6 separate regions of the Homo sapiens genome follow, and regions 1, 2, 3, 4 and 6 are each linked to region 5. The links are contacts of gene promoters, found by promoter capture Hi-C in blood cells and fetal thymus (Javierre and others, 2016). All regions are on one chromosome and are shown on one strand. Each heading gives the region's core, a stretch centred on a gene start or on the middle of the fragment in contact. The rest is flanking DNA. Distances are from core to core; before and after follow the strand shown. Region 1 overlaps NBDY (negative regulator of P-body association). Region 2 holds the start of SMC1A (structural maintenance of chromosomes 1A). Region 3 holds the start of KDM5C (lysine demethylase 5C). Region 4 overlaps PHF8 (PHD finger protein 8). Region 5 holds the start of VCF2 (VCP nuclear cofactor family member 2). Region 6 overlaps HUWE1 (HECT, UBA and WWE domain containing E3 ubiquitin protein ligase 1).

Region 1 (4,615 bases), core at 2,001-4,500, 1.6 Mb before region 5:
CGCTTTCGCTGGTGTAGAAAGTAAAAGAGAAAGGACGTATAATCATGGCTACTGGAAAACGGCAGAAGGACTGGGATCACAGGGCTGCCGCCCAAGTACAAGGCAGTGGCCACCCAGCTGGCTTACACAAGGTTTTGCTGGAGAATTGGGGGTCCTCCCAAAGCCTGGAGTTGCAGTTAGAGTTTACCACCTTGGGATGGCACATGGAGGTCCGAAGAACGGATAGACAGCTCAACAGGCAGCCACAGGGCCTGAGGCAGGAGTCTCCCTCAGCGGGGACATTCAGCAACTCACTCAAGACTGACTCTGCTCAGGCTGTCTCGGCTTTCACAGAGGTAGGGTTGGGAGGAGGGTGGCTCAGAGAGGCTGGGGAAGGCCACCAAGTACCACAGCTTCTCATGGCATCACACAGGGACAAGGCTTGGGGGCCCTTTTTAAGCAGCTTGACCCAGGATGCTCCAGTTTCATGCCTGCTGCTTGAGCCTATCTGATAACAGACTTCCCGAATTCATTCTCAGGAGAAGGCCCTAGTTGCCCAATAAATGGCATAATGACTCAGGCCTGGAGGCAGGAATGCTCCTCTGTCTCCCTTTCCCCTTTGCATATTTCGAACCCCTGTCGAAGAGAATGTGGGCAGTCGCATGCCTGTGGCGATGTGTGTTTGTGTCCCATAATGCTTGGGCCCCTACCCCTTTGATTTTGTGAGCTTACTTTATGTGTGTGTATGTGTGTGTTTGTGTGGGTATGTGTAAGCGTGTTTTTGTCTGGGTGTGCATGTATCTCTGTGTGTGTGTTTGTGATTTTATTTCTTCTTCTGGGGGTCTCTTGTAAGTGCCTGCATGTGTGTCTGTGTGTGCCTCCCTGTGTGAGTGAGAGTGGGCAAATGAACACGTGGCAGAGACACCCTGCCTGCACACACTGAAATGTGAGCAAATGAACACGTGGCAGAGACACCCTGCCTGCACACACTGAAATTCAGATTGATGTGTTCACATGGCTTGACTGGAAAAAAAGGAGTTAGGAAACAACTTGCCAAGGCTCCTACTGGCTCAGGATTACACTTACAGCATCCAGAAGGAGAATGGGAAATAACAATGAGCCATGAGGTATTGGGTAAAGGGTGCGTTCACCATGACATTTCACTTAAAAGTAACACGTGGGTAGCCTTTTGGTGGACCAGAGGGACTAAACTCATGACCTTCATCTGTGCTCCTTAAAGAACGAATGTGAAGCTTTCTCCAGGCCTAATTCTGCAGAGGGACATCCCACATCACCAAGGAGCAAAAGAAGAAGCAGTCTGCTAGAACACGTGCCCACCCAGATCCGCAAGTGAAAGGAAAAACAGAAGCAGAATCAGAAGCAGAAGCAAAAGCAAAAAAAGAAAAAGAGGCAAAGGAGAAGGAAGTGCAGGGGGAGGGGGAGGAGGAGTAGAAGGAGGAAAAAGAAGAAAAAGAAAAAGGAGGAGTAGGAAGATAAGAAGGAGTTGGAGGAGGAGGAGCAAGAGGAGAAGGAGGAGAAGGAGAAGAATTAAAGAAGAGGGGTAGGAGGAGGAAGAGGAAGAAGAATCAGAAGGAGAACAGGAAGTGAGAGGTCCATGCCACTGTAGCTGTCCCGAAGGATCTAGTTTAGGAGGGCCTCAACGCGTGGTGACATACAACGAGGGGCACGGAGCCACTTCTGACATCCGGCTTAAAGGACACACAACCAGGAAGCGTCTTGTTGATGGGGTATTTCCTGAGTAAGATCAAAAGCTTTGATCCACAAGTAGGCCTGCAGAAGCTACAGAGAACACAGGTGCTGGCTGAACCTTGCCCTGAAGATGTCATCAGCTGACTGCAAGGGGCTACCAAGCCCCAAGGCTACAAGGCCAAGGCAGGGAAGGACCGCCCAAAAAAGAATAAGATGAAAAACGGGGAGGAATTGGACACCAGGGAAAAGAGATAATCAGCCACCCACTGCAATATGGAGACAGGGCAGAAAGGAGAGGGAAACGCCAATTTCTCCTCGCAGGGGTCAGCTAGAGTCCTACTAATTTCCTTAGGAAAAGTAAGCCTGTTTTCCCTAACGGTGTCCCCGCGCCCAGCTGACCCTGCCTTCCAGTCTGCTCCTGGAGCAGAAGTGGAGAAAAAGTAAAGAGAATGAAGAAGAAAAAAGTGAAGGGAGAAAAACTCCAAAAGTACACAAAGAATCAGTGAGCAATGAGATTGACAGCGAACTGCAATGCAAAGTGCCTCAGATGGACAGCTGGCAGCACTATGAGTGGCCTCTTGTGGCCTCACAGAGGAAGAGCCACCAGCCAGGAGAAAGCATCAGCCCCTCAAGCCCGGGTCTGCACCGCGTGGGCACAGAGGCCTGTTGGGCCAGGAAGCTGCCCTGCTCCCTGTGGCCCCCACCCCTACCCCATCCTACTGTTGCCGGTTCCCCCAAAGTGACCACATAGATGGGAAGCCCTGCTGTAGGTGAGATGGGTGCTCCTAGGCCAGTTTCTTTTTTTTTTTTTTTTTTTTGGTGTTTGTTTTGGTTTTTGGCACCAAAAACAGAAAGAGGGAAAGAAAATGGGGGAAGGGAAAGACAAGACTGCTGTTTGTGGAGCCACATTGCCATCTAGTGGAAGTTGTTTCTGAACACAACAGGATGCACGGACACCTGCCTTCTGCCAGGAACAGAGATCAGCGAGGATGTGCTTAGACTATGTCTAAGCCTGGGTTTCCCCCACCGGGGTTCTGAGCCCTTGAAGGAAGTGTACCTGGCATTGGGACGCTTTGGAGAAGCAACTACTCTAGAGGCCCCAGGACAGAACAGCCAGGCAGCCCCAAGACCAGTCAGCCCAGAGGGCGGAGCTGGCCCGGCAGCCATGTTGAGATGGACATAAACGAAGCCACTGGCCGAGACGGGGGCCGTTTACTCTGGTGTCTTTTGTGGGGAGTTCCGGGGTTCCCTTGGCTGGAGCCACGTGTTGGCAAGGGGGCCCCGATCCTCCCGGGGAACAAAGGAGCTTCGGGATACTGGAGACGTGGCAACCCAGGACCAGCAGTACCTGGAGATGACCAGGGGAACCCATGGTGGGTCGCCCCTACCTGCCCTTTTTTTCGGAGAGAGCTGTGGAACCAGGGAGGCATCCTGGGAATGAGCACAGGCCAAGGGCCAGCTTGGAGTTCCTCTCTTGTCCTGCTTCAGCCTGGGGGCTCCATGCCGCCATCTCTTTTGCGCTCGTGGGGTTTCCCCAGCACTTGTGCCCAGCTGCCTCCGGTTTCTAGATACAGTTTCCGCTTGATGGCAGTATGGCTCCACAAACGCCAACTACAACTGTAACCCTGCCACTTCAACTCCAGGGCCTCCGCCTTTTCCCATGTGAAAAAAGGTAAAGAGGAAAGAGAAACAAAAAAAAAGACAGAGGAGTGAAAGGAATCAGTCACCTGGTCCCAGATTGATCACCAAACTCATGGGACCGTGTGACCAAGGACCAGGACCAGTAGGCTGGAGATCCTGTGGGAATCCTGTTTAGGGAGCCAGCCTTTGCCCTTCCTTTGGCTCTCTGCAGGTTTCATGGCTCTTGCCCGTGCAGAAAGTAAACAACAAAAAACATGATCATTACTGGGACACCACAGGAGGACTAGGATCATAGGGCTACTGCCCCAGGACAAGGTGCTGGTCACCCAGCTGGCTTACACAAGGTTCTGCTGCAGGACTGGGGGTCCTACGAAAGCCTGGAGCTCCAGGTAGAGTTTACCGCCTTGGGCTGACACATGGAGGTCATCAAAATAGGTGGACTGCTCAACTGGAAACCACAGGGCCTGAAGCAGGAGTATCTCTCAGAGAGGACACTCAGCAACTTGCTCAAGTCTGACTCTGCTCAGGCTGTCCTGGGTTTCACACAGATGGGGGTGGGAGGAGGGTGGCTCAGGGGTGCTGGGGAATGCCACCACACACCACAGATTCTTATGGCATCACACAGGGCCAAGGCTCCCAAGGGAACTCTCTCTGTCTCTAACACAAAGTGAGGTTCCTTTTTAAGCAGCTTGACCCAGGATGCTCCAGTTTTACACCAGCTGCTGGATCCTATCTGTTAACAGACTTCCCACATTGATTCTCAGGAGAAGGCGAGAGTTGCCCATCAATCAATGGCATGATGGCCCAGGCCTGGAGTCAGGAATTCTCCCCTGTCTCCTGTTCCCTTTGCACATTTAGAACCTGTGTGGGAGAAATTGTAGGCAGTCTCGTGCCTGTGGTGGTGTGTATGTGTCTGTGTGGGAGAATGCTTGGGCCTGCACCCCTGTGCCCCTGTGAGGTTTCTTGTTTGTGTGTCTATGTGTGTGTTTGTGTGTGTCTGCATGTGTCTCTGTGTGCGGGTGTGTTTGTGATTTCATTTCTGAGGTCCCTAGTGAGTGTGTGTATGTGTATCTGTGTCTATGGTTTGTGGGTGCCTTCCTGTGTGAGAGTGGGTAAACTGGCACATGGCAGAGACAGCCTGCCTGTATACACTGAAATCCGGATAGTTGTGTTCACATGGCTTGACTGGAAGGAGAGGAAATGGGGGAAAACTTGCTGAGGCTCCTACTGGCCAAGATTACATTATTAGATCGTCTTCAAGGAGAACAAGGTAGAAGGATGAATC
Region 2 (4,897 bases), core at 792-3,291, 1.7 Mb after region 5:
ATCTTTTTTAAATTTAAAATTTTATTTTATTTTTGGCCGGGCGCGGTGGCTCACGCCTGTAATCCCAGCACTTTGGGAGGCCGAGGCAGGTGGATCAGGAGGTCAGGAGTTCAAGACCAGCCTGGCCAACATAGTGAAACCCTGTCTTTACTAAAAATACAAAAAAATTAGCCAGGCGTGGCAGTGGGCACCTGTAATCCTAGCTACTTGGAAGGCTGAGGCAGAGAATAAAATTTATTTTATTTTTAATTTGTTTTAGATGGGGTCTCTCTCTGTTGCCCAGGATGGAGTGTAGTGGTGCAATCATGGCTCACTGCAGCCTCAAACTCCTGGGCTCAAAGGATCTTCCTGCCCCAGCCTCCTGAGTAGCTGGGACTACAGGTGTGTGCCACCATGCCTGCCTAATTTTTAAAATTTTTTTGTAGAGATTGGGTTTTGCTATGTTACCCAGGCTCACCATCTCATCTTTTAAAAGGGAACAGTATTTCCCCATGGATTACATGAGATTGCTGTCTTTTAGCCATTTTATCCCCTCAGCCTGATTGTTTCTCCCAGCTGAACTTCATTTATGGCTCCCCTACTAGATTCCATCTACCAAGCTTCCTCCCTTTATTTATTTTTGAGACAGGGTATTGCTCTGTCACCTAGGCTGGAGTGAAGTGGTGCGGACACCACTCACTACAGCCTCAACCTCCCAGGCTCAAGTGATCCTCCTGCTTCGGCATCCTGGGTAGACCAGAGGTGAGAGCTGCCACACCCAGCTAATTTTTTAATTTTTAGTAGAGATAGGGTCTCACTATGTTGCCCAGGCTGGTCTTGAACTGCTGGTCTCAAGTGATCCTCCTGCCTTGGCCTGCCTCCCTCACGATGGGATTACAGTTGTCAGCCACCATGCCCAGCCACTTCCTCACTTTCCTGGACTTGTCCTAAGTCTTTAGGACTCTTTCTAGCCTTCGGACATAATTTAATAAATAGTTAAAGGAATAATTATGGCAACCACCAGATCCTTTCCATGTTTAAGTCTGAGAATGGCACCAACTTACCTACTGGTTTCACCTGCCATTACAGTATAAGGTCACTGAAGGGGAAGATTCAGCTGACATTTTAAGCTTCTTGGATTGCTAAGGCCCCTGCCTTATTAATGATAGAGAGCAGAGAGGGAAGAGAGGTAAGGTGGCATTGTGGTATAGAGCTGTGGGAATGGGATGGGGGAGAGGCATGGAGGCAGAGGTAGGTGGAGGTGGAGAGCGCTGGCTTAGGGACCCTGACTCCTGGGGGTTCACACAAAATACCTTTCTCAGTAAGGAATCCCGATTTTGAAGCTCTTAGGTTGGCTCTGCATGCAACTTTGTTCTTGGGTTACGGCGGCAGTTTCTGAACTCTGCTTGGTACAACAGGAGGGAGGCAGGGGATAGGGGTAGTATCTCAGGCCGTAGCCTTCCCCAGCCTGTATCCCTGTTGCCTGGGAGTAGCCCCAGTCCCATTCACAACCCGTCCGCCTTCGCAACCCGTCCCGCCACCAATCCCACCCCACCATTAGCAAAGTCTGAGCTCACCTAACACTGAATCCTCCCGTTGGCCCCTCCTTCCCGTCCAGCTCTCCGCTCCCCCCGGGTCCTTCCAATTCCCGACCCTGTCCTTGTCCTAGCCTTGAAAGCTGGCCAGGCTAAAGCCACAGCCGAGCTCCCACCTTCCTCTTGCCCTGAGGGGCATAATCCTGCTGTGACTTCTGTCTCAGCAAGCGTGAGCTCAGGTCTCCCCCGCCTCCTTGAACCTCAAGAACTGCTCTGACTCCGCCCAGCAACAACTCCTCCGGGGATCTGGTCCGCAGGAGCAAGTGTTTGTTGTTGCCATGCAACAAGAAAGGGGGGCGGAGGCACCACGCCAGTCGTCAGCTCGCTCCTCGTATACGCAACATCAGTCCCCGCCCCTGGTCCCACTCCTGCCGGAAGGCGAAAATCCCGTTAGGCCTGGACGTATTCTCGCGACATTTGCCGGTCGCCCGGCTTGCACTGCGGCGTTTCCCGCGCGGGCTACCTCAGTTCTCGGGCGTACGGCGCGGCCTGTCCTACTGCCGCCGGCGCCGCGGCCGTCATGGGGTTCCTGAAACTGATTGAGATTGAGAACTTTAAGTCGTACAAGGGTCGACAGATTATCGGACCATTTCAGAGGTTCACCGCCATCATTGGACCCAATGGCTCTGGTGAGATAAACCTGGCCGCGGCCCTGCGCACGTCCCGGCCTGGACCCCTTATCCGGTGCCGGAGTAGTACAACCCAGCCCATGTAACCTGAAACGTCGCGGACCCTTACGGGTTCCTTGCCCGTCCAGAGGGGGTTCTGCTCGAACCCACTCTCCCCGCGCGGGTGCTCTAACTCGAACCCCTTCCAGGTGTCACTTGCCGCTTCCTGCGCGGCCCCCGCCCCGGCCCAGTGGTACAGGCCGAGCTGCCAGTTACCCCGCCTACTTCCCCCTCCCGCCAAAGGAGTCGCGTCTGGAACCAGCTTCCCGCCAGCTCAGTCCTCCGCCGCGCGGCTCCCCGCCGGACCGGCCGGAGCCGGCTTCCCAGCCTTACTTGACCCCCTCCGGAGAATGTGGGGACGCTGGTAGCTCTCCCGTGGCCTTCGGTCCCAAACGGTGCACTTCTGTTTCAGCCCAGCGTCCTCTCTCGCCTCGCATTGGTACACTCCAACTCCTTTCTACTCTTCTCTGGAGGCGGCACTTTTGAATTTCAGACCCAGCGCTCCAGTCTTTAGAATGCTTGAGGTGTCGATCCCCACCCCCCACCGCTATGTCAGAGGTAGTTGCCTCGAACTCGCCCTTTTCCTACCACCGAAACCGTCAAAAGCCGAAATTAACTAATTTACCAAATTTGTTGAATGCTTATTGTTTATCAGGAGTTATTCAGTTGCAAGTTGTGGAAACAGCGGAGAATAGAATAAACCAACTCCATGCTCACAGGGAACTTATATTCCAGAGGGGAAAGAAGATAAGGAGAAAATAAGATGGTTTTAGGCTGTCATAAGTGCTATACAGGAAATGAGACAGGTGGATGTGATAAAGTGACTTAGGTGGTGTCTTTAGAAAGGGTGGTCAGGTAAAGCCTCTATTTTGTGTCTTCCCAACTCTAAACGATACACCGTGGATTCCTCTCACCTCAGATGTCCATTTGGAATCCTGCTGTATTCTTCCACCCCAGAGATGTTCTAGCTGAATGATATCCTAGCCTAAGAGGCTGCCCTTGCTGAAGTAGCACATACTGAGTACCTTTCCTGGAGACTGAGTGTCTCAACAGTGGCACTATTGACATTTCCAGCGAGATAATCCTTTGCTGTGGGATGTGCTCTGTGCATTGTAGGATGTTTAACAGCATCTCTGGCATCTACCTGCTAGATAACAGTAGCACCCCTGCTCCCCAGGCATGACAATCAAAACTGTCTCTAGACATTGCTAGATGTCACAGAGGGTGTGTGTGATTCCCCCAACCCCCCAACTTGTTTGAGAACCACTGGCCTGGAGGGCTAATGCTTGGTGTCCACCCAGTTTCCTCGGGTTTTAGTGTAGTGGCCCCTGTTGGAAGAGCTAGGATGTACCTCTTGGCATTCAGTCCCCTCAGCATTAGTAGATTTGTATTCCCAGCTGTTCTGAAAAGGGCTATGGCACTCCCCCACTTGCCCCCGTTCTTCAAGGCCCACCTCTACAAGCCATTCCTTTAGTCCCTTTGGTGAGTGAGTCTTCCTCTGTGGCATACCGTAGACACTTGGTACACGTTAATGTTTATTAAGTCCTATATTGATGGTGCATGTTTTTGTATCTTCATTGGCCTGTGAGTACCCTAAAGCAGACATTCCTTGAAACGTTTTACTGGTGTTCAGTCCATAATATATATTACAAAAATGTTTACCATATTGATTGTGATTAGAGAGGCTTGGGGTTGTGAGATGATGTTGTCCTCCCTGGAAATGATGGGAGAAGCCCAAAGGTTGGATATTGGTTCCTAAAAGGCTGACTCCTGGTCTGCATGATGTGCTAGTCCTGCTGTGATGAGGGAGACAGCTGAGTCCAGACTTAGGATAGGACTAATTAATTGAGTACCTACTCTGTGTGTCAAGTACTTTATTTATTGGGACCCTGTTTTTTCTTTTTCTTTTTCTTTTCTTTTTTTTTTTTTTTGAGACAGTCTTGCTCTGTTGTCCAGGCTGGAGTGCAGTGGCATGATGTTGGCTCACTGCAACCTCTGCCTCTTGGGTTCAAGTGATTCTCGTGCCTCAGCCTCCCAAGTAGCTGGGACTACAGGCGTGCGCCACCCCATCTGGCTAGTTCTTGTATTTTTAGTAGAGTTGGTGTTTCTCCCAGTTGGCCAGGCTGGTCTCAAACTCCTGGGCTCAAGTGATCTGCCTGCCTCAGCCTCCCAAAGTGCTGGGATTACAGGCATGAGCCACTGCACCCAGCCAAGGGACCCTTTACAATTAAATTCTCAAAATGACCCTAGGAGGAAAATGCCAATAGCTTCGTTTTATACATGAGGAGACTAAGGCACAGAGGTGTGATAACTTGTCCGTGGTTCTCAGAACCCATGCCTGTGCTCCTGCCACTCCAATAGAGAAGTATGTGCCGCACATATTTTTAGACCCGTGAATTGTGGTTTTTTTCATCTTTTTCCAGGTGAGGGAATGGAAGGTCAGCTAAGTGGTAGTGAAAGTAAGATTAGAACCTGGTCTGTTGGTTCTAAGCCCAAGTTTGCAAGCTTTTTTAGATGGAGTCTCACTCTGACGCCCACACTGGAGTGCAGTGGCATGACCTCGGCTCACTGCAACTTCTGCCTGCTGGGTTCAAGTGATTCTTTTCTTTTTTTTCTTTTTTTTTTTTTTGAGATGAAGTCTTTCTCTGTCGCCCA
Region 3 (4,692 bases), core at 7-2,506, 1.9 Mb after region 5:
TGCCAAGTGCTAAGGATGTATAAGGCCACATGGTCCCTGCCCTTAAGGAATTCATAGTCTGATGGGGGAAAACAAAATTACTTAATCAGCATGTACGCAAGTACTCAAATATTTGCACAGTAGGTGTTCAAACTATATGCAGTAGGTCCACAGCTGATGAATGACACAGATGATCCTCCAATCAGTAGATGCCTGATGTATATGTACAAAGTACTGGTTTGATGATACTCATTCAAAGTACTGTAGTTGCAATGAACCTATTCAGAAACTGCTCAAGGAACATGCACACGATAGGACTAAATGTACATACAGTTGGTACCAAATGCACAGGGGCTATACACAATAAATACAATAAAAGTACACGGATGTTTGGTAAGTGCACTGTAGGCTCACAAATGGGCAAACAGGTGTTTTACACAGTTGACACTGGATAAATACGCCGTTGCTAAACATCCAATAGTTAAAGTATACATACACACAGGCTTATTTTGTAGGAGTATATGCCACAAATGTGTACATGGTAAAAGTGAATACAGAACAGTTGAAAGCGTTCATTAAAATGCTGACTCCCAGTGACTTTTGGGGGGTAAGAATCGAAACCCCATCTCTCTACCTGTAACCTTGGATGAAATAAAGATTTCCTTCCTTTACTTGGGACTCAGAATCCTAAAAATCCATAATCCCCGGGGAGTGAGCAGCTTCCTGCCTTCCTTATTTCAAAGCCCCAGAGGTGTCAGTGTCTAGAGCTGGAGCCTAGTACATCTCCCCCCATCCCGCGGGCCAGCATAAGGGGTCCTTTGCAATCAGGCTCCCAGAGCCGCCTTCCGCGGCCCATACCGTTAAGACCAGGGAGAAGGGACAGAGAACACTGGTGCGGGGCTAGCGACCTGGTTGAGGTCTGCGGGGGAGTGCCGGTTTGACTCCACCACCCACGGACACCAGCTCCTCTTCCGGTCTCCATAACGCGCATGCGCATCACTGGCCTTTAAACGTGCACCGCCGGTCCATCCGGAAAGACGATCCGGCAAACTAATTACAATCTTGTTCCTCCGCCGTTGCAATGAACTATTTTCTCTCAGTCCGGGGTGGTACTTTTGAGTAACCCCTTCCAAATAGAAACCCATACCAGCCTATTTAGCTCGGTCTCCACTATATGAAGGTTTCCTAGGGCTTGGTGTGACGCAACGTATACGAGGCTCGGAAGGACACCCCGCGGAAGGATCCGGTTTGTTGTGGTGTGGGGAGGGGAGACGCTGACAAACCAAGATGGCGGCGGCGGCGCTGAAGGCCGCGGCGTTTGGGAGGTAACTGTGGTGGCGAAGGCTGCGGTAGTGGGGAGGCAACCACACAGTTTGGAAGAAACGGAGCGGGACGAAGAGGCGGTAGCAGTAGAGTCAGCCTGAGACTCTCAGAGCACGACGGCCACACGCCCCCTTAGGCCCTCGGCGGGCGGCGGCTGCCCCGCTTAGGGCCTAGCCTCCGAGCATTGCCTCGGCTTCAAACAGCGGCGGCGCCATGAGTCCTTAAGGGCGGTCCAAGCCTCCCGATCCCTGGCCCAGACCTCGGGCCCACCATGGAGCCGGGGTCCGACGATTTCCTACCGCCACCGGAGTGCCCGGTGTTCGAGCCTAGCTGGGCCGAGTTCCGAGACCCTCTTGGCTACATCGCGAAAATCAGGCCCATCGCAGAGAAATCGGGCATTTGCAAGATCCGCCCACCCGCGGTAAGCCCCGGGGCCGGTTTTCGCCGGCGGCGAGACGGAATGAAGCAGTAGGATAGCCAGCGGCGAAGTCTGGGGCGGAGGGCAGCTCGAGGTGGGGAGAGGGGGTGGCTGGGACCGTTGTGGTTGCGGCGCGGATCGGAAAAAGGGTGTTGGGCCAGGGGTCCTCTCGTGGTGTGAGGCCCACAGGTGACCTGGAGTCAGAGATCCACCCCCACCCCGGCCCTTCAGAATCACTCCGGGTTTAAGACAGGGATTCCTAGTGGGCCGGAGGGAGTTCACAGAGAGGCACCCCGCACATCTCTTAGCCCGGGCCACCTAGGTCGAGGCTGTAAAAATAAGACGTTTCTCCAATCTGTTGTCATCACTTCCTTTAAGGCAGGCAGCATAGTATAGTATTAATAGAAAGATCGCAGTCCTGAAGGGAGACAGACTTGAGTTCAAAACTCCACTTTGAAGCTGAGCAGCTGTGTGACCTTGGGAAAGTAGAAGTAATCTCTCTGAGCCCGTGAAATGGATCCCAGAAATGGTTATTTAGAGGATTGAATTAAACTAGGTAGCGTCTGTATGTAGTACGCACTAGATAAGTGGTAATTATTGTGACTGTGAGGGTGTTTGATGTGGTCATTGGTTTATTCCTATGTAGGTTGACTCATATTTACTCATACCTTGCCAGGCCAATTCATCTATGATAATATCCTGGCCTGCTGGACCAGTCAGGAAATCAGTCTCACAGGGATTGCTCTGTCTCCCTTGAGGTGGGTTCAGGGAATTGTCCTCTTCTTTTCCTCGTTGAAGGCAATGTCAAGGCCTTTTCTGCACATCATCCCGCAGACTTGACTTCCTATGGAGATGTTTGGACCGGTCAGCTTGGTGGTGGGGTGTGAGTCCTTCTCAGAAGATTTCTACTCTCCTCTGGTCCAGGATGTAGGAGATCCCAGAGGATAGGGCACTCTTGGGCCCGCAGAACAGAATGGAGCCATGGAATTCTGTCCCTTTTGGAACATGATTGCCAGGGGTCAGCAACAAAGGCCATAGCTTTCCTCCTAGGCCTGGCTTCAGGCTAGAAGTCTCCCAAGGGCTAGGGCAAGCTGCTGCCTTGCTGATATGGTGGAAAAGTGATGATAATGTTCAGTGATCAGTTGGGATTCCAAGGGCAGAAATTGAGCTTTGCTGGAAAAGGGTGTTTTTGAGTGGGTGTCTCCTGGCTGAAATGGAATAGGAAGCTTCATTCCCACCTGAGGAGGGCACCACAGGCCTCCTTATCCAACTTGGTGCTTTCTGGTGCTCAGCCACAGATCTAGGATGGTTTCAGATAGATCCTCTAGGAGGTGTTGGGTAAGCGAATTTCTTCCTTCTTGGAGTCTGGCCACAGATTTCTGAGGTATCCTTGTCCATGGTGAGGGAGTGGCAGTGGGTAGAGGGTCAGGAAGGCTAGTGGAAGGGAGAGGCAGGAGTCCTGGGCAGCCTCAAGGAGGCACTCCCTGAAGTGGTTGGGCAAGCCTGTGGGAAAAAGAGGCATAGCTGACGTAGGGGGTAGTTGAGGCCTGAATTCCTTTTTTCTATCTTGGACTGACTTAGGCAGGCTGGCCTTGTGTAGGTGTTGTTACCCTGCTTTGGGGCATCAGGAAGGGGAAGAGTGACATGTCCCAGGTGTGCATGGCCAGCAGGAGGCCGTCCTTTTCACTGCTCAACAGTGTGCTTCTCTCTAATCCAGGATACCTGGCTCTCTGGTTTGGTTTTGTTTTTTCCTTCTCTATGGCAGCTCCTAGGCCACCTTTAGGCAGCTGGCCTTCTTCTGGTTGAAGTTTGAAGTACTCGCTCAAGTGATGCTTGGGCCCAGGGTGGGAACCTGTATATGGGTGGGTACCTGGGAATTGGAGGTTTGCTGGAGGAAGGATGGTTTGGGGCCTGAATTGCTGGGCAGGTGACTGCTACGCTTGGGAAAGATGGGTGGGAGGAGAGTGTGGGTACCCTGAGTAGACCCAGTGGAGTTTGGAAGGATCTTGCTTTCTTCATCAGGTAGCCAGCCTTTTTTTTATCACCACATCCCAGTAATACCAACATACATTTGGCATACAGTAGTCTGGAGATGAAGGCAGGCGGTTTGCAGGGCCTTCCCAGGTATCTGTTGCATCCATGGCTCCTGCCGTAGCATTCCAGGGCTGCCATTTCCTGTCAGGTGCTTGATGTTGCACTGATTGTCTAGAACTTGATTCAGCAGGAAAGAAGGGTGCCCGGAGTTTTGGGTTTGAGCACCTTTTTAGCTGGGTTACCTGTGCTGAGGGGAGTGCCCTATCCTGATGAGAGGCAAGAGGGCATGGGGAGCTTGTCTGGATTTGAGCCATACCATTTTGGCCTGCCTGTTTTTTTTTTTTTTTGTCCCTGCTTACTGAGCCCCAGATGTTTGCCACCTGCTTTGGCTGGTAGGGGCAGGGGAGTGTGGTCTGTGTATGCATGCAAAATATGAGTCCTCTAGCCCATTTTCTAAAAGTGTGTGTGCAGAAGAGGTCAACAGTTTTTCTTCTCTTTCACTGTCTCTCCCCCCCGCCCACGTGTATGCATGTATGTATGAACATTGATGTCTGGTGTAGTGCAAAGGCCTTGGATCAGAGGTCAGAAGACGTGGGTTCTTGGCCCCACCACTAACTCAGCATGTAATTTTGGAAATTTCACTTTTTTTCTCTGAGCCTCACTTTCCCCATTTATAAAATGAGAACATTGGTTTAGGTTACTTTAGGTTGATTTCACCACCCCAGCAGGAGCCAGGGCTCTGGGAAGGAGAGGTCTGCATAGGAGGTTGGAAAGGGGTGTTGGAGAGGGGGTTCTTCACAGCTGACCTTTGGGCAGGACACAGCAAGCTCCAACTTGGCAGAGCAGAGTGTCTCCCACTTTCATGATCTTTCCCTGACTTCCCTCCCCAAATCCTCCCATTCTTTGCCACCACAGTCAGGCATCCCAGCACTTACCCC
Region 4 (4,695 bases), core at 1,451-3,950, 1.1 Mb after region 5:
GGGTCTCATTTGAGACAGGCTGGAGTCGGGTGGTGCAATCACCACTCACTGCAGCCCTGACCTCCCTAGCTTAATCCATCTTCCCACCTGCGCTTCCTGGGTAGCTGGGACTACAGGTGTGTGCCACCACGCCCAGCTAATTTTTTTTTTGTATTTTTTGTAGAGACGGGGTTTTGCCATGTTGCCCAGGCTGGTCTCCAACTCCTGGGCTCAAACAATCTGCCTTCCTTGGCCTCCCAAAGTGCTGGGATTACAGTTGTGAGCTATTGCACTCAGCCTTAGATTTCATACATTTATAAACCAGCTTGATTGTTTTCTCTGTGAACTACTTGCTTGTTTTATAGGCATTCTGTTGTGTTACTATTACTGATTTATAACAGCTTTCTTGGAGAAAATTTTAATTTCTATATGGTTAAGTTTATTACTATTTTTAATGACTGCTGGGTTTTTCCCAGGTTTTTCTACTCTTAAAGCTTTATTTTTTGGAATTTAATCTTTGGACCATCTAGGATTATGTAAAGAATGAGATAGGCAGGCCAGGCACAGTGGCTCATGCCTGTAATCCCAGCACTTTGGGAGGCTGAGGCGGGCAGATCACCTGAGGTCGGGAGTTCAAGACCAGCCTGACCAACATGTAGAAATCCCCTATCTACTAAAAATACAAAATTAGCTGGGCGTGGTGGCGCATGCCTGTAATCCCAGCTAGTCGGGAGGCTGAGGTAGGAGAATCGCTTGAACCCTGGAGGCGGAGGTTGTGGTGAGCCGAGATTGTGCCATTGCACTCCAGCCTGGGCAACAAGAGCAAAACTCTGTCTCAAAAAAAAAAAAAGAATGAGATAGGCATTGAGCTTGAGCTTAATATATTTGTCCCAACACAAGTTGTCAGAGTTGTCAAATACAAATCTTTCCTCCACCATGATTTAAAAGAAAACTATTTTCTGCACCATGATTTAAAGAAAACTATTTTCTTTCTTTTCTTTAAAAAAAAAAAAAAAAAAAAGACAGGGACTCTCTCTGTCACCCAGGCTGGAGTGCAGTGGCATGTTCAAAGCCCACTGTAACCTCAACTCCTGGGTTCAAGTGATCTTCCTGCCTCAGCCTCCCAAGTACGTAGGACTGTAGGCCTGCACCACCATGCCCTGCTAATTTTGAATTTTTTTGTGGAGACGGGTTTAGAAATGATGCCCAGGCTGAAACTCATTAAGTATGCACGTTGAGAAAGTTGTTGTATATGCATGTTGAGAAAGTTGTTGTAAAAATGTTGTTGTTTTGTTTAAATCAGTCTTTTCTCTTTGACAGTGTTTTAAATTGGGTAATGCTGCTCTTGGTTTGAACAAATCTGTCAAACTTGTCAGATGTGTCTTTTCTTTCTGGCCAGGCTGTTGACTGATTTCTTCTTGTCACCCAGAGAAGAGCACCATGTTGGCAGAATACTCCCCACCTCTGCCAGTGACCTGGTCTCTTGCCTTGGACAGATCATTTCTTCCCTGGCAGATGAGGTTTTTGGCATTAGTTGCCAGCTCACATTAAGTCCCCTCATAAAAACCCCACCTCTTGGGTGAGTGGCAGCCTCCAATAAGGCCTTTAGTGGGCAGGGCCTCAGGCTCAAGCTTTCTCTCCTGCGGCCCACAGCTCAGATGAAGTGATTCTGAAGCCCACTGGAAATCAACTGACCGTGGAATTCCTGGAAGAAAATAGCTTCAGTGTGCCCATCCTGGTCCTGAAGAAGGATGGGTTGGGCATGACGCTGCCCTCGCCATCATTCACTGTGAGGGATGTTGAACACTATGTTGGTAAGACACTACAGACCCTTTTAACTGTAACATTGTTCATTCCTGTCAAGATCTGTGTCCCTTCCCCTCCAATCTGTTTTTGCATTTCCTCTGTAACCATCTTGGGAATCTCAGGTGAAATGCCTTGTCCAAAGTCATTCTTTGGCAGAGATAGAGTCAAAATCCTAGTCTCCTCTTTGTTCTCCTTTCATGCATTCACTCATTCGTTTATCAGAGACAGGGTCTCGCCCTGTTGCCCAGGCTGGAGTACAGTGGCGCAATTAACTCACTGCAGCCTCCACCTCCTCCTGGGCTCCAGGGATCCTCAAACCTCAACCTCCTGAGTAGCTGAGACTACAGGGATGCACCACCATGCCTAGCTAGTTTTGTTTATTTTTTGTAGAGATGATGTCACACTATGTTGCCCAGGCTGATCTCCAACTACTGGGCTCAAGCGATCTTTCTGCCTCGGCCTCCCAACTGGGATTACAGGCGTGAGCCACCACGCCCAGCCCCTTCTCCTTTTAATAGTCCATAAAACCCCAGGTTGAGCTCCGTTTTTTACCTGGGAAGTTCTAGGGATCATTGTCTGTCTTCTGTTGAAATGAGAAAGCTTTTGACTGTTGTTCTCACATGCCACTTGTTGTCTGGGCATGAGTTTCTGGGGAGAGGAAGAGAAGAAATGGAGAAGCAAGGCCCAGGCAGATGGACTACTATGTGTGAGGCTGTGTGTCTGGTAGTTCCATTGCCCTAGCAGGGCACATAGATCTAAGGAAAGTGCGATGGGTTCCTTCCCCTGCCCCCCAAACAAACACACACATATATGTACAGTGTCAGTGGAGAGAAGCTTTGAGTGTAAGGCCATTCTAGGGACTGATGAGGGGACAAGAGAGTCTTCCACAGTCCCTGAGACTACTTGGTGCAGAACCTATCTCTTTACTCCAGGTTCTGACAAAGAGATTGATGTGATTGATGTGACCCGCCAGGCTGACTGCAAGATGAAGCTTGGTGATTTTGTGAAATACTATTACAGCGGGAAGAGGGAGAAAGTCCTCAATGTCATTAGTTTGGAATTCTCTGATACCAGGTAAGAGGTGCAGGAATAACAAAAAAACCTGACAAAGTGCCTGAAACTTGTGTGATATATCTAGTGTATATTCGTGTTTCTCTCTCTTTTTTTTTTTTTTTGAGACAGAGTCTTGCTCTGTCGCCCAGGCTGGAGTACAGTGGCACGATCTTGGCTCACTGCAACCTCCGCCTCTTGGGTTCAAGCAATTCTCCTGCCTCAGCCTCCTGAGTAGCTAGGATTACAGGCGCCCGCCACCATGCCTGGCTAATTTTTGTATGTTTAGTAGAGATGGGGTTTCACCATGTTGGCCAGGCTGGTCTCGAACTCCCTACCTCAGGTGATCTGCCCGCCTTGGCCTCCCAAAGTACTAGGATTACAGGCATGAGCCACCGCACCTTGCCTCGTGTTCCTTTCTCTTCTTCCTGGTGGTTTCTTCCTTTGGGATGGCGAGCTGGGTTATATTTTCTAGGGTAGCTGCTCACGTTGTAACAGTTGAGTCATATTTCTCCTCCACAGTTTCTAGCATTGGATAGATTACATAGTAGCTATTTTAATTAATTTTTGTCTCCTTTTTCAAGACCTTAGGACACCCTTCTTTGACCTTTTCCTCCTATATACAACAGTGCCACAGTCACTGTGTAACTGGTGGGATAGGTCCTCAGTTCCTGGAAATAGATTTACTAAAATTACCCCCATGTAGGTTTCTTACATTTAAAAAGAAAAAGAGAAACCTATTTACCTTTAAATGATTCTATCTGGACTCACACACACAGTAGATACGTATATAGTCTTCTCTTTGGGTCAGAAATGTGGGAAATACCAAGAAATCATAATGTATCTTTTTGCCCTTAGGAAACTTACTGTCTGATTATTTACATTTTTAACTTTTAATTTGTAGATTGATAGGAAGTTGCAAAAAAGTGTACAGGGAGGTCCTGTGTACTCTTTAGCCACTTTCCCTCAATGGTAACGTATTATGTAATTACGGTACAATATTAAGACCCTTGCTGTTGTGTTTTTTTTTTTTTTTTTTTTTTGAGACGGAGTTTCGCTCTGTCACCCAGGCTGGAGTGCAGTGGCATGATCTCGGCTCACTGCAAGCTCCGCCTCCCTGGTTCACGCCATTCTCCTGCCTCAGCCTCCCGAGTAGCTGGGACCACAGGCACCTGCGACCACACCCGGCTAATTTTTTATGTTTTTAGTAGAGACGGGGTTTCACTGTGTTAGCCAGGATGGTCTCGATCTCCTGACCTCGTGATCCACCCACCTCGGCCTCCCAAAGCGCTGGGATTACAGGTGTGAGCCACCGCGCCCGGCGCTGTTGTTTTTAAGATGCAAGGTTAAACAACCTGAGAGTGTTTAAAAACTGTATTTGTTTGTTTATACTTCACTTCATCCTGAAAGACTATTCAAGGTAGCTTACAGAGATGTGGAGAAGCCAAAAAAAAAAGAGAGAAAACTAGAACAAAAGTGAAATAAGATTGGGAAATAGAATGCATGTGGTGGGTGCTCAGCACATTTCCCGGTTGGTGGAAATGGACTATAGAGTTTTCAGTGAATTTCCTGAAGGTCAGAACAAAGAGAGGAGTGCAGTATTGTAAGATTTGTGGCTTTACGTAGGATAAAAGCAACAGATGTTTCAGAGAAACATTTCTTTACCTGGAACTGAGCCCTGTGAGGTTGCTCTAGTGGTTTCTCATAAAGAAGACACTATGAGATGGGGATAGTGCAATAACTTCTATAATCCACATGCCAAGTGAGTAGTCTGGAGTGGGGCTGGGGAGTATGAGCATTTAGTGGAGGAAATGAACACCTTTGACTGGAGAAGCCTGTGGAGCTTGGACTTGGGACTTC
Region 5 (4,513 bases), core at 1,871-4,370:
AATACCTCACAAAGCACTCTTTATAGTGGAGATTATTACAAGGGACAAAATCGGACATTACATAATAATCATGAGATCTGGTCATTTAAAAGTGTGTGGCGCCTCCCTCCCCTCCTCCAACTCTCTCTCTCTCTTGCTCCTGCTTTTGCCACGTGAAGTGCTTGCTCCTGCTTCACCTTTTACCATGAGCAAAAGCTTCCTGAGGCCTCCCCAGAAGCTGTTACCAGAAAGGGGTCCCGATCCAGATCCCAAGAGAGGGTTCCTGGATCTCGCCCAAGAAAGAATTCAAGGTGAGTCCACAGTGCAAAGCAAAAGCAAATTTATTAAGAAAGTAAAGTGGTGAAAGTACAGCTACTCTACAGACAGAGTAGGATATTCCCAAAAGTAAGAAAAGGAATGCATCCACCCTAGGTACAATACTCGTTTATATACAGGATAAAAAAGATTATGGGGAGATGTGCTCTGCTACAAGGGTTTGTGATAAAGGATTAATTTTCTTAATTACTATATCTTGCAAGAATTGATATTATGATCTTTAAAGCAAAATTAGGAATGCTTCTGTTCTCAAGATATTGGGATATCACGACACTCCTAAGTCTGGGTCTGTTCAGTAAAAACATCTAGAGGCTAGAAATACCTAATTTTCTGAGAATGCAGCCAAGCAAATCCCAGCCTCCTTTTTCCTAGATTTTTCCTATTTTTTCAAGATAGAATTGCTCTGGTTCGAACGCCTCTGACAAATCCGGCGCCATGCTTTCTGTACAGCCTGCAGAACCATGAGCTAATTCAAACCTCTTTTCTTTATAAATTACCCAGACTCCAGGTATTTCTTTACAGCAATGCAAGATGGCCTAATACATGGTCTGCATTGCTTAGGAGTCTCATGTTGATTGCAGTGTCCTCAGTGGTTTCTGAAGGAAGGCTAACTTATCTCCCAAATCCTGCTGGTGATGCTGATTTGCTCACGTATGTCTGTGGCTGGTGTAACTTGCATTTTTGTCTCTCTCATCTTGGTCAGAATCTGGTACTCCCTGGCTGACTCAGCCTCAGCCCATGTGTGCTAGCTTCTGCAGACCCCTCTGAATCTGGGCTTCATCCTCCCTTCAGCCCCTGGCCAGGGTTGTCCACTCCACAGCCTCAGCTGCAAGGTAACCTAGTCCTTATCTGGCTTAAGCTTGCCCCATGGTAGCACCCCTGGCTCTTGAATCAGCCACTTTCCATACCCTCCAACCCCTCCACCTTCCTCAGAGAATGCAGCCCCTTGGGGTCTCACCTACAACACAGCAATAACCAAGATCAGCTCTTGAAAGCAAAATCCCTCATTTCTAACCATCTATTTGCCCACTTTGTAGACGATAGCATGATCCGATAGACATGGAGAACATGGTGATTCAAGTAAAAGGAATGATCATTACAAAAGCTTGTTCCTTGAGAATGTGGAAGGGCATGGGATCCAAGTGAAGGGTGTTAAGGAAAAAAAATTATTCATGGCATTTGTTAAAGAACGGTAAGGCAGACTTCATTCAGGACCATCAAGATAGGTGTAGGGACCACTGCTATGGGGTTTTGCAGTGAAGGGAGAGAAACTGGGTTCCACTCCAAATACAACAACGAAAAGTGGAAATTTATAGCCAAGGAGCAGGGTGGGGAGCAATGGACGGAAAATTACTAAGAGGAAACACCACGGGTAAGGGGGTATTGTGGCTAAATTGAACTAACAGGATTGTTGGTGAAGGTGGGCCAGGGTGACTAGACATCACCTGGGGGATGAGGAACCTAACTGAGATATTGATGATGGGAAATTCTAACTAAACTGACTTAGCAGGATTCTTGTTAAAATTGCACAATGCAGCGACAAACATGGCAGTCTAAAAGTCCCCTGTCCAGGGCTGTCTACTCCACAGCCTCGGCTGCAGGGTCACCTAGCCCCTAGCTGGGTTAGGCTTCCTTTATGGCATGATCTTTAGTTCTTGAATCAGCCACTTTCCACATCTTCCCTTCCATCCTCAGGGAATGCAGCCCCCTGTGAGATCACCTACTTAACAGCAAGAACCAGGATCAGCCTAAACTCTAGCACTCCCTTTGCCAACTTTTTAGATAATAAATACAGATAGAGGAACATGATAATTCAGGAGAAAGCATAACTGCAAAGGATGATCCCTTAAGAAGGTGGAAGGCATAGGATCCAGGTGAAGGGCCTGGTCTCAAGTAGGATCCTGTCTCTTCCTCCAGGGAAGCAGCCAAGATTATAAGTGCAGGTCTACTGCTGTTGGGAAGTGGTGTGAATTCTTCTCTGATTGCTTCTATTTTCTCAAGGGAATATCAGTGAATATCATGAGAAAATTGGGTGCTGGTGCTTGTGGAGGGATCTTGTAAGTAGACTAGACAGAGAAGGTACACTTGTGGAGGGTGTACATTGTTTGTCTACTTGGCGGCGGGGGGACTGCCAGGAGAGTAGGGAGGAGAGAGTTAATAGCTTTGGGTAAGCTGGCTAAGGAAGGTGAATGGTGAGGAACGCGGTTGTGGTTAGTGGAGAGGAGGCCTCCTTGAGGCTAAAGGCTGTGGATGCTGGGGCACTGGAAGAGGTAGCTGTTAGGACACGATCGGGTGCTGCCCGTTATGAGAATGGGGGATGCAAGAAATGGACATCGTGGAGGGGCGCGGTCTTTCCTGAGGCCCAGGGCATGACCGCGGGCAGAAGAGACTTAAGTGGGGGGAAGGAGACCCCCCCGAGGACGGAGAGGCGCCGGCCACGGCCTGGTCAGCCCCGGGGGCGCTGAGGTCGCCGAGGAGGATCAGCGGTGTGAGGGCTGCGAGGACAGGGCGTGTGCCACGTGAGAAGCGTGTTCAGAGGCTGGCTGGGTGGGAGGAGAATGTCCATGGGATTGGCACAGGTCTCGAACATGGGGCGGCTCGGGCAGTCGCGCAGCAGAGCCTGACCCTCAGCGGATCGTCCCTCAGGCGTCAGCTCCCAACTGCAGGGAAGGGAGCCTGCGGCGGACCCAGAGGAAACAGGAGCCGACCTCCCCGGGCTCCGATGCGCAGGCCCAGAGCCCGTCAATCCTTGGCCAGCCCCGCCCTCCGGGCTGCGTTTTTCCGGCGGCGCAGGAACTTCCTGCGCGGTTGCTATGGTTCCGAGGGCAGGACTATGGGAGGCTGCCCTGTACGGTAAGTTCGTCGGGGCCTTTCCGGCCGGTACCAGTCCGAGCTCTGGTCCCCACGGTCATCACGCTTTGCTTTCTCAGCCAAGATCTCGGGGCTCAGGGCGGAAACGCAGCGGATATGTATTTTCTTCCGGGGTTGGTGGCGCTCGGCTCTCATGACCTGCAGGTGACAGTGTTGGCCGGTGGCGCGGCCCTGCTTGCCTCGTGCCCCGCCCTTCGTGCTTGAAAAAAAATCCCGCGAAGCCTTCTCCGAAAGAACATGCTGGTTCTTTGGTTGTCAGTGCCTTACAAGCCCTGGAGGCGGGGGTGAGGTGGGGATGTGGTCCCTCGCGAAAACTCAGTCAGTGGACAATAGCATTCTGTTTTTCAAATTGGCATTTCCTCGGTGAGGCTGCTAGGTACCCTAGCAACTGGTATTTCTGTTTCTCTGATTGGTTTTGTCATCTTTCTCCACGTGTTACTGGGGTTCTATGGACCTTTATCAATGTATTCTTTCATTACAAACGTCTCTGAATCTCATGGTAGAAAACTTGGTTAGACTGTTAAAGCGTAATAAAGGAAACCAATCTTATCCACAGTCCGATCACCCAGCCGTGACCATTAATCATATTCTGTGATAAATTTCCTTAGATGTTTTTCATTCGTAAAGTTGCATTTTAAAAAATGAGATTAACATTGTTTCATGAACATTCCGCTTTTTAAACTCAGCTTCACACTTTGAAAAATCATTTTCATAGTATTACTCTGTTTTAAAAACAATGCAAACGTATTGTAAGCTGTTGAAAGTTTCAGTAAAACTTGAGCGCAAAATACTCAAATACTCAAAATACCATGATCAAAGACAAACATCACCATGCTCCCTAATGAAGGCAGAGCTGTGGCATGTGTTTGTTTCACTCTTTTATCCTGGCACCTGGAGGAGTGCCTAGCACTTAGTGGATGCTCAATAAACATTGTGAAATAAAATAATATTTACACCCGGTCATTTTTTCTTTATATATAATCAATCATTTCATAATGGAGTGTAATATAGGAGCAGTTTTCTACGTGATTTTTTATTTGGCATTTTGTACTCAGTACTCAGTCTCCTAGAGTCTCCTAGTACTCAGTCTCCTAGAGATGAGAATTGATTAAAGAGTAATGAAATTATAAAAATGAGTAAACTCAGCCATTCTTAGGAGTACCAAAAACTCAAAAGTAAGTCTCTAAGCAAATGTCTGGTTAATAATAGAGTGCTGTGAAAACTATGTCAAACGCTGCAATCTGATTACTTATTGACAAGGAACTTGAAACTGAAGATGTAATCTTACCAATCATTGAAAACAATTTTGAGAAAAGAATGTTTCAAG
Region 6 (4,777 bases), core at 517-3,016, 1.5 Mb after region 5:
AGTTTGGGCAAGTTAACCTATATCAGTTATGATGTGGGGGGAAATACCTTATTCATATGGTTATTGGAATTAAAGAGAAAATGTAAGGTGTTAGTACATGGTAGGTGATCAGTAGATGGTAATTTATTTAATGTACTATTTTACTTAACTCCTTCAACAGCTCAGAGGTGGGCAGTCAGGGTGGTGAAAATAATGGCCATTTAACAAAATGTGTCTGGACCCTTTAGGTCTGTGTGGGATCATCAGTGGTGAGGCAGGATAGGGTTTGTTCTTGAGTTATTTTGGGTCTGAGACTTTGGCCAGTGATAACTGAATGTTCCATAGAGTAGTTTTTCACTTTGGAACTCCTTAGGAGTCACATTTATACCCTCTGAAGGGTCTTAGCTAGTTCTGTAATGTGTATTACATTGGTTACCTTGATCTCTCTCCGTCTATACTGGCCCCTCCTATTCAAGGTGTTCAAGGTTCTGTTGTAACCTTAGTAACCTATAATAAGTATTCCTAATAGTCATCAGTATCACCACTGTTAACACATTTGGGCAGCACCATGCATGGCAGGTCAGCAAACAGGTAAATCTTATTTTTTTAAACATTACACATAATATCTAAAGTATAGTTTGTGGCATGTAATAAGTGCTGCTGAATAAATGGAAGTCATTGTTCAGTTTTTAGCTTAATATATCTTTTTTTTTCTTTTAACATAACATTTACTGAATGTTGCTAAGTATAAGGAGTAAGGGACATAAAATGAATGAGACTTGGTCTCTGCCCTTGAGAAACTCACAGTCGAGTTAAGGACTGTGAAATCATGTTTAAAGTTCCTTAGCCTTTTCCTTTGTGTCATCATTTCTTCCCCTGCACTGTCTATGCATGATATAGCCTGTCCATTGTTTCTCACAGCTTTCCTAATTCTGTGTGCCTCCCCAGCCTTTGAGACTGCTGATATGTGAGAAAGCCAACAATTGTCTTCTATTAATACAGGGTAATATCAAGAAAAACCTTTGGGCCAATATTGGATTTCAGAGTGGCATGTGCAGTTGACATTACAATACCAGTTTATGGTCTTTAGATGGGCCTGTACACCTGGGCTCCAGCCTCTTTCCTGTGCCTTTAAACTGCCTTACTTCCATCTTTCCTCCCCTATACCCTACCCTTAATGTACTTGGTACATAAAAATAGAGGCTCCCATACCCAGGTAGTGATCAAGTACAATGTAAAGAAACAGCTGTACTTCATATAAACTAGGATTCGAGTGGGCCTAGGGTATATCACTAAATTTCCATTCTTATCTATAAAACAGTAATCGGAAAGCCTATTTCATAGGTTGCTGTGAGCATTAAAGCGAGATGATGTATTTTTAAATGCTTGTAAAGTACGAAGATAAGGTCATTATAATTTATATAAAATACTTAGTAGCTATGTTACTTGGGGCAAATTACCTCATCACTGAGCCAGTTTCCTCATCCTTTAAATGAAGATGGTGATATTCATTTAACAAATATTTATTGAGGACGTAGTCATTGCAGCTACATCCTGGGAATACAAAGATAAGTGACTGGAGAATGTAGGACAGTGTGGTCTAGGGGAAGGAGACTTGCAAATCACACAAAAGGGTCAGTATGGTAATATGAGGAATGAACAAAATGTGCTATAGCAGTTTACAAGAAGGCATCAGAGAATGTCACAGAGTTTTGTTAGGGTTAAGCAAGATAAATGAAAAGTACTTCATGAATTCAAAAATGCTATACAAATAAGTTAGTTAAACGTACCCCAAATGAATCAATAGTCTCAAACCATTATTGTTTCATTTCTTCACAAGACTTACTCTTTAGATGCATTTATTTCTTTGAGCTAGATTTTATGACCTCCTTAAGGGTAACCTGTAGTAGAGTATCCTGAAAGTTAATGCTTTTGTCTAAAAGGATTTTTTTCATCCATTTTATCATTTTCTAGTTTTTAATCACTGAATTCAGGAAAAACTAGAAAATGTGTGCATATTTGGGGAGAGGATATACATAATTCCACCACAATGTTTAGTCACTGTTAACATTTTGGTGTATTCACATCTTAATGATAAGGGTAGTGTTTAAGGAATAAGAAAAGAAATCTAGTAGGAAATTTTAAGGATAGGCATTTCCCAGAATAGGAAACTAAAAACGTCCACTAACAAGAAATGGTACTCAAACTAATAATCAGAAATGCAAATTTAAATAAGGTCATTTTTAGTCATTAGATTGATAAAAAATAATTTGATAATATCAAGTCATCGTAAAAGGTATAAGGAAGAGTCTGGCCTTATAATACTGCCTACAAGTGGCGTAAATTGATACAGCTATTTTGGAGGCAATTTTGGCAAGTTGCAAGAGAGTACATACTATGTGATGCTATTTATGTTTTAAAAAAAACCATGGCAAACTGACAACTTTATTTGGGAGGAGGGATCGTGGGGAACTTTACCTTTTTCTGTAATATGTGCATTTCTACTTCTGAAAAATATACTGAGAAGTACAGAGAATAATACAACAATCCCTGTCCCTACCCCCACTCCAGAATTGATCATTTTTAACATTTATTTTTGCCTTACATTTTTTTGTGGAGTTGGAAGTAACACAAGTTGAGTGTCCCTAATCCAAAATTCAAAATGCCCCAAAATGAGTTTCAACACGATGCCACAAGTGGAAAATTCTACGCCTAAGTACTTAACACTTTGTTTCATGAGCAGAATTATTAAAAATATTGTATAGGGTACAACGAACATTATTTGGGTGATGGTTACACTAAATGTCTAGACTTCACTACTGCACAATATACCCATGTAACAGAACTGTACTTGTGCCACCTAAATTTATACGAGAAATTGTGTAAAATTACCTTCAGGCTGTATGTATAAGGTGTGTATGGAACATGAATGGATTTCATGTTTAAACTTGAGCCGCATCCTCAAGATGTCTCATGATGTATAGGCAGATATTCAAGAATCTGAAATCTGAAATCCTGCTGGTCCCAAGCACTGGATAGGAGATACTTAACCTGTATAGGTAAACAGGAGATACTTTTTTAATACCCAGCATTCCCTTCCCCCCTTACAATCAGTACAATGAATTGCTTGAATTTTTCTACTGTGAGAATGGTATAAATTATGAATGTAAGTAAAAGTTCAAAACCGATGTGGTGGCCACACAAAAACCTATTATTAAATAATATTAAATTTGTACAGTATTTTAGAGTTTGTAAGAAGCATTCTGATTTTAGTAAGAATGCTTTGGGAATAGAACTTTTTTTCGTTTGCTCATTTTCTTGTTAACTCTTGTTTGAAAACGTTTTCCTGAATTTGTTTTTAAGTAATCTTCATGACTGTAGAATTATACATGGCTTATTGTTGAAAAATACAGATAAACAGACAAATTTCCGCAAACCCCAAACTCACAGATAAAATACTCTTAACATTTTGGTATGCAGTATCTTCTTCGAAGGCTTTTCTTAACTGCTCTGTAGCCATATTATATATTTTTTCAGAAATGCTCTTTTTAAAATGTAATTCATTACCTCCCTTCCAGCTTTCAATTTTGTATGAAAAATTTCAAACAAAAATGCTGAAAACATAGCACAATGAACATCTGTATACCATCAGCTGGATCCAACAATTAAGTATTTGCCATATTAGATTTATATGTACAGATGTGTGTTTAATTTTTCTCAACATTAGAAGTAAGGATGACACTTTATCCTTAAATCTTTCAGCTGCATGTCTTAAGAATGAGGACATCTCAGCCGGGCGCAGTGGCTCACACCTGTAATCTGAGCACTTTGGGAGGCCAAGGTGGGTGGATCATTTGAGGTCAGGAGTTCGAGACCAGCCTGGCCAACATGGTGAAACCCTGCCTCTACTAAAAATAAAAAAATTAGCTGGGTGTGGTGGCACCTGTAGTCCCAGCTACTCGGGAGGCTGAGGCAGGAGAATCACTTGAACCCAGGAGGCGGAGGTTGCAGTGAGCTGAGATCACGCCACTGCATTCCAGCCTGGGCGACAGAGTGAGACTCTGTCTCAAAAAAAAAAAAAAAAGTAAGGACATCTACAAAACCACAATACCATTATCACGCCTAGGGAGTTTATTTTTTCTTAATATTATCTAATATCCGGTTCATATTCACATTTTCTCAGTTGTCCCCAAACTGTCTTTTTTTCCAAGCTGTTTTCTCCAAACTAGTGTAGAAATGGTATTTTTAACTTTGCTCTTCCCACATATTGACCCCTGTTTCATGTCTTTGTCATTATGTATACTTCTGTAGCATTTTTAATGGCTACATTGTATTCTATTGTATGCAGAATTTATTTAACCAGTTTGCTTTGTTCACACCTTTTGCTGTGTTCATACTTTTCCCTCAGGTGTCCCCAAACTGTCTTTTTTCAAGCTGTTTTCTCCAAACTAGTATAGAAATGGTATTGTTAAATTTGCTCTTCCCACGTATTGACCCGTTCCATGTCTCTGTCATTATGTATACTTCTGTAGCTTTTTTTTTTTTTTTTTTTTTTTTGAGACGGAGTCTCGCTGTCGCCCAGGTCGGAGTGCAGTGGCGCGATCTCGGCTCACTGCAGGCTCCGCCCCCCGGGGTTCACGCCATTCTCCTGCCTCAGCCTTTTGAGTAGCTGGGACTACAGGTGCCTGCCACCTCGCCCGGCTAATTTTTTTTTGTATTTTTAGTAGAGACGGGGTTTCACCGTGTTAGCCAGGATGGTCTCGATCTCCTGACCTCGTGATCCGCCCGCCTCGGCCTC

Evidence for each region. Contacts are between HindIII fragments. The CHiCAGO score rates a contact against its expected background, and 5 or more counts as called.
Region 1: a contact is called between a fragment that was not itself captured here and the fragment with the promoter of VCF2 in region 5, in 1 of 17 cell types (fetal thymus). The highest score is 5.4, in fetal thymus.
Region 2: a contact is called between the fragment with the promoter of SMC1A here and the fragment with the promoter of VCF2 in region 5, in 8 of 17 cell types (naive CD4 T cells, non-activated CD4 T cells, naive CD8 T cells and 5 more). The highest score is 10.4, in naive CD4 T cells.
Region 3: a contact is called between the fragment with the promoter of KDM5C here and the fragment with the promoter of VCF2 in region 5, in 5 of 17 cell types (neutrophils, naive CD8 T cells, total CD8 T cells and 2 more). The highest score is 9.2, in neutrophils.
Region 4: a fragment that was not itself captured here is called in contact with the fragment with the promoter of VCF2 in region 5 in 1 of 17 cell types (total B cells); the score reaches 6.0 in total B cells.
Region 6: a contact is called between a fragment that was not itself captured here and the fragment with the promoter of VCF2 in region 5, in 2 of 17 cell types (total B cells and total CD4 T cells). The highest score is 8.3, in total B cells.

What each region holds. Positions count from the first base shown.
Region 1 is chrX:56,762,595-56,767,209 of GRCh38, reverse strand. The region is part of intron 2 of NBDY (negative regulator of P-body association); the gene reads right to left. Among named protein-coding and RNA genes, the nearest start is that of NBDY, 36 kb to the right of the region's middle. RefSeq lists enhancers at 1-110, 2,594-2,953, 2,949-3,450, 3,414-3,533, 3,554-3,603. The HindIII fragment of the contact is 2,994 bases long and covers 1,754-4,615 here.
Region 2 is chrX:53,419,798-53,424,694 of GRCh38, reverse strand. SMC1A (structural maintenance of chromosomes 1A) reads left to right here and starts at 2,041. Exons shown (of 25, transcript NM_006306.4): 1 at 2,041-2,203. The coding sequence starts at 2,095. It overlaps RIBC1 (RIB43A domain with coiled-coils 1), which reads right to left and starts at 1,822. Exons shown (of 8, transcript NM_001031745.5): 1 at 1,691-1,822; 2 at 1,293-1,381. RefSeq lists enhancers at 1,734-1,783, 938-1,909, 2,074-2,253, 2,444-2,493, 2,614-2,793 and 1 more. The HindIII fragment of the contact is 3,638 bases long and covers 1,112-4,749 here.
Region 3 is chrX:53,221,771-53,226,462 of GRCh38, reverse strand. It overlaps KDM5C (lysine demethylase 5C), which reads left to right and starts at 1,256. Exons shown (of 26, transcript NM_004187.5): 1 at 1,256-1,723. The coding sequence starts at 1,574. It also overlaps a transcript of IQSEC2 not described here. RefSeq lists enhancers at 935-984, 862-1,156, 995-1,374, 1,615-1,714. The HindIII fragment of the contact is 15,929 bases long and covers 1-2,948 here.
Region 4 is chrX:54,014,759-54,019,453 of GRCh38, reverse strand. PHF8 (PHD finger protein 8) reads left to right here. Exons shown (of 22, transcript NM_015107.3): 5 at 1,633-1,793; 6 at 2,718-2,859. Among named protein-coding and RNA genes, the nearest start is that of PHF8, 27 kb to the left of the region's middle. The HindIII fragment of the contact is 157 bases long and covers 2,622-2,778 here.
Region 5 is chrX:55,159,792-55,164,304 of GRCh38, reverse strand. VCF2 (VCP nuclear cofactor family member 2) reads left to right here and starts at 3,120. Exons shown (of 3, transcript NM_001166701.4): 1 at 3,120-3,168. The coding sequence starts at 3,149. RefSeq lists enhancers at 2,331-2,831, 2,832-3,332, 3,158-3,457. The HindIII fragment of the contact is 5,872 bases long and covers 1,423-4,513 here.
Region 6 is chrX:53,671,551-53,676,327 of GRCh38, reverse strand. All of the region lies in intron 3 of HUWE1 (HECT, UBA and WWE domain containing E3 ubiquitin protein ligase 1), which reads left to right. Among named protein-coding and RNA genes, the nearest start is that of HUWE1, 13 kb to the left of the region's middle. The HindIII fragment of the contact is 9,468 bases long and covers 1-4,777 here.